Regions from separate parts of the Homo sapiens genome. Here region 1 is linked to region 2. The links are contacts of gene promoters, found by promoter capture Hi-C in human tissues and cell types (Jung and others, 2019). All regions are on one chromosome and are shown on one strand. Each heading gives the region's core, a stretch centred on a gene start or on the middle of the fragment in contact. The rest is flanking DNA. Distances are from core to core; before and after follow the strand shown. Region 1 overlaps LOC124904635 (a long non-coding RNA gene). Region 2 holds the start of ZNF558 (zinc finger protein 558).

Region 1 (3,882 bases), core at 620-3,119, 970 kb after region 2:
GGCCTACATTTGTGATTTAAATCAGCACATTTCTCATCTCTCAGAACTCCTCAATAACCATCGGTTGGAAAAAAGAGCAAAAAACCTAAATGTATTTATATGTAATCTCTAGGAGTTAACCTCACCGAAAGATACAACCGATTTAAGAAGAAAATGTTAAAACTCTCTTCAAGGGCCTATAGAAGAAACGGGATGAATGGAAACGTGATTCACTCTGTGGACTGGCAGATACCTCTGGAAATCTGGTGTTCTATTGTAATAAGTTCTCGGGAAGGTAGAGACTTTTATTTGGGACATAGAGGCTTGGCCAACCAGAATGGAGGACCCACCCAAGTCCCGCCCCCAAGCCTGAGCCCTCTCCTTTGCTCCACCCACTCTGCCTGAAGTCCCCTCAACCCCTCCGACTTCGCAGTCTCCCAGCCCGGCCTTCTGGGGCTGGTCTTCATTGGAAGCCACGCCCCCAGGTCTGTCGGATAAACATTTTACAACCTATTCTCTCTGAAGTCTAGTACCTGGAGGCTTCCTCTGGAAATAAGAACTTGGGTCTCCCGCCTGGCCAACATGACGAAACCCCGTCTCTACTAGAAATACAAAAATTAGCCGGTCGTGGTGGCACACACCTGTAATCCTAGCTACTCAGGAGGCTGCGGCAGGAGAATTGCTGGAACCCGGTAGGCGCAGGTTACAGTGAGCTGAGGTCGTGCCACTGCACTCCAGCCTGGGCGACAGAGCGAGACTGCGTCTCCGAAAAAAAAAAAAAAAAAAATTAGCCGGGCATGGTGGCGGGCGCCTGTAATCCCAGCTATTCTGGTGGCTGAGCCAGGAGAATCGCTTGAACCCGGGAGGTGGAGGTTGCAGTGAGCCGAGATGGTGCCATTGCACTCCAGGCTGGGCAACAAGAGCGAGACTCCATCTCAAAAAAGAAAAAAGAAAAAAAAAAAAAAGAACTTGGGTCTCCACAACCTCAAGCCTCCTCTCAAAAAAAGAAAAAAAGTTTTAATCTCCCTATAAGCTGGAATCCCCACTCCCACCCCACCCCAGCTCCCGGTTTGAGCTGTCCTGCCATTCTGGAACAAATGAATGTATTTCTTTTCCTTTTTTTTTTTTTTTTTTTTTGAGACGGTGTCTCGCTCTGTCACCCAGGCTGGAGTGCAGTGGTGCCATCTCCGCTCACTGCAACCTCCGCCTCCCTGGTTCAAGCGATTCTCCTGCCTCAGCCTCCTGAGTAGCTGGGATAACTGGCGCGTGCCACCACACCCGGCTAATTTTGTATTTTTAGTAGAGACGGGGTTTCACCATCTTGGTTAGGCTGGTCTCGAACTCTGACCTCATGTGATCCGCCCACCTCGGCCTACCAAAGGGCTGGGATTACAGGCGTGAGCCACCGCGCCCGGCCAATATATTTCTTAAATGTATTTGATTGAAGTCTCATGTCTCCCTAAAATGTACAAAACCAACTGCACCCCAGTCACCTTGGGCACATGTTCTCCTGGCCTCCTGAGGGCTGTATCACCGGCCATGGTCACTCATATTTGGCTCAGAATGAATCTCTTAAAATATTTTACAGAGTTTGACGCTTTTCGTCGACATTGCTTAGGCTGGCATCGAATTCCTGGGCTCAAGCTGTAATTGCCGGAGGGTTCTTCCTGCCCACTGCATAAAGAAAGACAATGGCATTGTAGTAAAGGAAGAGTTTAGTGGACATGAGGCTGGCCATGCCACGTGGGAGTCGAAGTTCCTACTCAAATCATCTCAAAGCTCCTAGGTTAGGGGTTTTCCAAAGACAGTTTGGGGGAACGGGTGGGGATGGCAGAGTAACAGGTGCTTGCTGCTGATTGGTTGGGGCAGATGCAATCATAGGGGGGTCGAAGCCTTCCTCCTACAGGCTGAATCGATTTTGGGTGGGGCCATAGGAGCAGGGTTGACGGGTCCATGAGGAGTGTTAGGTGTCAGACATGCAATAAAACCTGAAAGGGTATCTCCAAAGGCCAATCTGGGGTTCTGCAATAGTGGTGTTATTTGCAGGAGTAATTGGGGAAGTTGCATATCTCATAACCTCTGGAATAGTGGCTGACATACATTTCTGCGCCTTTGCAGGAATCAGGCTCCTCTCCTGCTGATGGCTCCCCATTAGTTTTACCAAAGCGATTGAGTTTTAGGCAAAGCTTATTATCACCTAAACTATAGCCTAAATGTTTCTTAAAGTTACCTCAGCCCAATAGCCCAGGAAATATTAAGGGAAAGGGAAGATGGGGGGTGGATTGGCTCAGATCTCTTTCACTGTCATAATTTTCTGATATATATTTTTTTGAGACAGGGTCTCACTCTGTTACCCAGGCTAGAGTGCAGAGGTGCAATCACAGCTCACTGCAGCCTCGACCTCCCCAGGCTCAAATGACCTGCCCATTCTGGAGTTCATTCAGCCTCACAAAATGTTGGAATTACAGGCGTGAGCCACCTCGACTGTCCTGATTATTATTTTTGCAAAGGCAATGGTTGACAAAGAGTCAAACTCTGTAAAATATTTGAAGAGATTTATTCTGAGCCAAATATGAGTGACCATGGCCCACGACACAGCCCTCAGGATGTCCTGAGAACATGTGACAAAAGTGGTTGGGGTGCAGCTTGGTTTTATATATTTTAGGGAGACATGAGACATCAATCAAACACATTTAATAAATACATTGGCTTGGTCCAGAAAAGCAGGACAACTCAAAGCAGGAAGCTTCCACGCTATAGGTAAATTTAAACTTTTTTTTTTTTTTTTTTTTTGAGATGGAGTTTCGCTCTTGTTGCCCAGGCTGGAGTGCAATGGTGTGAACTCGGCTCACCGCAACCTCCGCCTCCCAGGTGCAGGCGATTCTCCTGCCTCAGCCTCCCGAGTAGCTGGGATTACAGACATGTGCCACCACGTCCGGCTAATTTTGTATTTTTAGTAGAGACGGGGTTTCTCCATGTTGGTCAGGCTGGTCTCGAACTCCCGACCTCAGGTGATCCGCCTGCCTCTGCCTCCCAGTGTTGGGATTACAGGCGTGAGCCACCGCGCTCGGCCATATGTGCAATTTATTACATGTTAATTATACCTCAGTGAAGCTGTAGGGGCTGGGCATGGTGAGTAGTTCACACCTGTAATCCCAGCACTTTGGGAGGCTGTGGCAGGCAGATCGCTTGAGCCCAAAACTTTGAGACCAGCCTGGGCAATATGGTGAGACCCCATCTCTACAAAAAAAGAAAAATTAGCTGGGCATGGTGGCATGTGCCTATAGTCCCAGGTACTTGTGTGGCTGAGAGGGTAAGGAACACTACAGCCCTGGAGGTCAAGGCTGAGATGAGCCATGATGCGCTCTGGCCTGGGCAACAAAGCAAGACCCTGTCTCGAAAAAAAATTTTTTCTTTTTTTCCTAAAGAATGTGTAGGCCAAGTTAACCCTCCAGACAGGTAAGAATGTGATATGTGTCATAGCCTGTAATTTATACAATAACATCAAGGCTGCTTTGGTCCAAGGGCAGGATCTATGGCGAGTATATGTTCTTACACAAGAACAGTAAATAAAGTAGAAATCCTGGCTGGGTGCAGTGGCTCATGCCTGTAATCCCGGCACTTTGGGAGGCCAAGGTGGGCGGATGGCTTGAGCCCAAGAGTTCAAGACCAGCCTGGGCAACATGACGAAACCCTATGTCTTAAAACAAAAAACAAAAAAAAACAAAAAACCACCAGGCATGGTAGTGTGCACCTGTAGTCTCAATTACTTGGGAGGCTGAGGTGGGAGGATTGCTTCAACCCAGGTGAGGGAGGTTACAGTGAGTCGAGATTGGGCCAGTGCACTCCAGCCTGAGGGACAGAATAAGACTCTGTCTCAAAAAAAAAAAAAAAAAAGTAGGT
Region 2 (4,109 bases), core at 366-2,865:
AAAGACCAGCCTGGCCAACATGGCAAAAACCTGTCTCTACTAAAAATACAAACAAAATTAGCTGGGCGTGGTGGCACTTGCCTGTAGTCCCAGCTACTCAGGAAACTGAGGCAGGAGATTTGCTTGAGTCTGGGAGGTGGAGGTTGACATGAGCCAAGATCGCGCCACTGCACTCCAACCTGGCCAACAGAGTGAGACTTGGTCTCAAGAAAAAAAAAAAAAGTCAAATCAAACAGGCCTGAAAAATGTTGCTAAGTAGTCCTGCTAGTTGTTAGTGGGAAGACTTGTAACACTACATATACATGTAAATATTTTCTATACTTATATAAAATTCAGAAACTTTTAGCATTACGGCATACCAGAAAATCTGTCTTTAGCTACAGTTACACATCTTTACGTTATTTGTATGTTTGTTTTGTGGATACTTATTTGCATGTAACTGTATTTACTTATTTACACACATGTAACCATAAACACCTCTGTCTTTTTACCTTGAACTTTCCTTAAGATACCTTCACTCTTAGTGACTTCAATGTGGTTACAACCCCAGCACAGGAAAAGCCCACGAGGAGTTCTTCTACACAGCAGAGCCTGCTGAAACCTTGTTGTAGGTTCCACACTGTACTCACCTGGTCACCCAAAAACCCACAACAACAGGTGGACCTTGTGGCAGGCTTCAACACGAATCTGAGCTTGAATGATGCTTTTCTCATCTGAAAAAAAAAAAAAGACACAAAGATTTCTTTCGAGGCTTTGTATAGGTTGTACAGTTGTTGGATACGGCTGCCGGAAACACCATCCCATTCACTTTTTTTGGGTACTCAATGATTAAATGTGTAATAAGGGCCCAGCCTGTGGGCCATGACTGGCTTTACCTGATTCCCATCTGGCCATCTGCTCCGTAAGAGGGGAGAAAGCAGCTTAACGCTGTGTGCATTTGACTTGCTCAACTTACTACGCTGGAGAGAGATTCTATGGTGACTCCACAGGCTTTAAAAATATCTTGTCACTTAGAGGCCCTATTAAGTGACTAAACTGAATTTTTAACAATTTATGTAGTTTATTCAGAACTGCAGAGATTTTTTTTTTAAGGCCCTAGAGCAGGGTTTCCCAACCTGGCACTACTGATAATTCTTTGTTGTGGGGGACTGTCCTGTACAACGTAGGATCTTTAAGAGCAAGCAGCGTCCCTCTTCCCCGGCCTCCACCCTCTAGGTGACAGTAGCAGCCTCCCCTCCCCACAATTTGTGAAAACCACAGTCGTCTCCAGCTACAGCCAAAAGTCCCCTGGGGTGCGGAATCGCCCCGGGTGAGGGCGACTGGGGTTCCCTGAGGAGGCAACAGCGGCGCGGGGCCCCGACCCAGGAGCAAGCAGCAGCTTCGTGCTGACCTAAGCTCACAGCCCGAGGCCTCATGAACCGAAACACGGCTCCCTGGAGGGACGCAGGGCCCGTGGCTGGCGGTGTCCGCGGCCCACGTCGCCCCCTGGACTCGGACCCGAGCCCCCGCCAGTCGCTCACCGAGCCCGGCCCCTCCCGCGGGGCCAAAAGCGCCGACTCGCGGGGACGGAGGGACTCGCTCCCCGCTGCCCCACGCGCGGCCCCTCCCACGGTACCGCCCCGCGCTTCCGCTTCCGGTCTGGGGAGAGGTGCGCTGCACGTCCCCTTCCGGCTCGCGCGGGCAGCCTCGCAGAGTCGAGCGTGTTGGGGGTTCGGCGCTTAGGCGACAGGCGCGGCGGGCGGGAGCGGCGGCCGCGAACCCCAGCCTTGGGCAGAGGTGTTCTAGTTTGCTTAGTGGGCACAAAGTTGGGCCCTGGCCTGGGGCAGTAGCGGGGGTAAGGTTGGCCCTGGGGGCGGGGCCAGGCTGTGAGCCGCACGAGGCCTGGGGGCGGGGCTGGTTGTGGGCGGAGATCAGTTCCGGGGCGGGGCTGAAGGCGGGGAACCGGCTGAGGCCGTACCAGGCCTGGAGGGCGAGGCTGATTGGGCAGAGACCAGTTCCAGGGTCGGGGCTGTGGGTGGGGCCCAGTTCTCGGGGCGGATGGTATAAGGCTTCTAGAGCGGGGATGACTGAGCAGAGACCAGTTACAGGGGTGGAGACCTCCATTTCCGGGGCGGGGCTGAGCGGGAACCAGGCTGTGGTTGTGACAGCCCTGGAGGTTGGGGCTGGCTGTGGGCGGAGATAAGCTCCGGGCCGGGCGGAGGGCGGGGACTAGGCTGTGGGTGTACCGGTCTTGGAGGGCAGTGGTGATTGGCAGAGAGCAGTTCTAGGGGCGGAGCTATGGGGTGGCAGCAAGCCTGGGGGCGGGGCTGACTGTGGGCGGAGACCAGTTCTGGGGGCGGGACTGTGGGCTGCACCAGGCCTGGGGAGGGGGCAGTGGGTGGAGACCAGTTCCAGGGGCAGGGATCTGGGTATGAATAAAAGGGTGTATGATGTGGGTGGGTTGGGATAGGCCCAGGAGCCAGGATTGTGGGAGATCAGATTCAGGGGTAGGGCCTTCCTTGGATCCCTAGATTGTTGATACAGTTACTGCCCCATGTTCATACAACCCAATAGGATCAGATTATGTATGCACATTTGTCTATAACTTGCTTTCCCAAGGCAGAACATAGTGATTTAACACTAAGAGTTTAGGGGAGCAGGAGAGGACTGGGTCATAGATACACATATAGGAAAACTTAAGAATGGTACAAAGTCAGTCAAATATTCTCCCACCACGGTCTTTCAGTTCTTTTGCTCAGAGGCAAAAATAATTTTCTCCTCTATCTTTCCAGATATAGTGTGGACATGTATGTGTGTGTATGTGTGTATGCCGTAGTCATATTCATGGAATAAATGCTATTACCTCCCCCCCAACAAGTCTCTGTTTTATACACCATGGATATAGACTGAACAAAATAGGTAAACGTCCTTGCCCTCAGAGAACGTGCATTTTAGTTGTGAGTTGGGCAGGAGAAATGGACAGTGAATGTGATAAATAGAATACATGGTGGGTTGGTGCGTTAGATACCACTAAGTGCTGGTTGGACCTGGTGGCTTACGCTTGTAATCCCAACACTTTGGGAGGCCGAGGCAGGCAGATCACCTGAGGTCAGGAGTTCGAGACCAGCCTGCCAACATGGTGAAACCCCGTCTCTACTAAAAATACAAAATTAGCCGGGCGTGGTGGCGGATGCCTTGTAATCCCAGGTACTTGGGAGGCTGAGGCAGGAGAATAGCTTGAACTCGGGAGGTGGAGGTTGAAGTGAGCCGAGATTGCAGCCGGTGCACTCCAGCCCGGGTGACGAGCAAGACTCCATCTCAAAAAACAAAACAAAACAAAAACCAAAAACCATAAACAAAAAAAGATACTGGTAAGTGCAAAGGGAAAAAATTTTATGTAAGAGAGTGGTAACATTTAAAATCAGCCAGGAAGAAATACTTTCAATGAATGATATTGTTTCATGCACCCGTCCTTTCAGAAAAAAATAGTTAGATCTCTGCTTCCCAAAAATATCCATTTTCAGGTGGCTGAAGGAAGTTTAAGCAAAAATGAACAAGTTCAAAATTCAATATACTAGGAAAGTTCACTGTGGAAAGACTGTTCTCTTCAACAAATTGTGCTGGGACAACTAGATGCCAATATACAAAAGAATGAAATTGGGCTGGGCGTGGTGGCTCACGCCTGTAACCCCAGCACTTTGGGAGGCTGAGGCAGGCAGATCACGAGGTCAAGATATCGAGACCATCCTGGCTAACATGGTGAAACCCCGTCTCTACTAAAAATACCAAAATTAGCTGGGCGTGGTGGCGGGCGCCTATAGTCCCAGCTACTCGGGAGACTGAGGCAGAAGAATCGTTTGAACCCAGGAGGTGGAGATTGCAGTGAGCCGAGATCACCCCACTGCACTCCAGCCTGAGAACAGAGCGAGACTCCATCAAAAAAAAAAAACAAACCAAAACCAAAAAAAAACAAAAAAAAAACCAACCAACCAAGAAACAAACAAAAAACAGAGAATGAAATTGGACCTCTACTTCACACCATGTACAAAAGTGAGCTCAAAATAGATCATAGACCTAAAGGTAAGAGCTAAAACTATAAACTTCTTGGAAGAAAACATAGGTGTCAAACT

What was found. The method cuts DNA at HindIII sites, captures the fragments that hold promoters and counts their contacts. A contact is called where the count stands out against the background at its distance.
Region 1: a contact is called between a fragment that was not itself captured here and the fragment with the promoter of ZNF558 in region 2, in 1 of the 25 tissues and cell types used here (dorsolateral prefrontal cortex).

The regions. Positions count from the first base shown.
Region 1 is chr19:9,801,810-9,805,691 of GRCh38, forward strand. LOC124904635 (a long non-coding RNA gene) reads left to right here. Exons shown (of 3, transcript XR_007067134.1): 3 at 113-607. Among named protein-coding and RNA genes, the nearest start is that of FBXL12, 15 kb to the right of the region's middle. The HindIII fragment of the contact is 4,629 bases long and covers 1-3,882 here.
Region 2 is chr19:8,830,689-8,834,797 of GRCh38, forward strand. ZNF558 (zinc finger protein 558) reads right to left here and starts at 1,616. Exons shown (of 10, transcript NM_144693.3): 1 at 1,521-1,616; 2 at 630-713. MBD3L1 (methyl-CpG binding domain protein 3 like 1) reads left to right here and starts at 1,689. Exons shown (of 3, transcript NM_001393532.1): 1 at 1,689-1,834. RefSeq lists silencers at 1,396-1,665, 2,166-2,425. The HindIII fragment of the contact is 13,119 bases long and covers 1-4,109 here.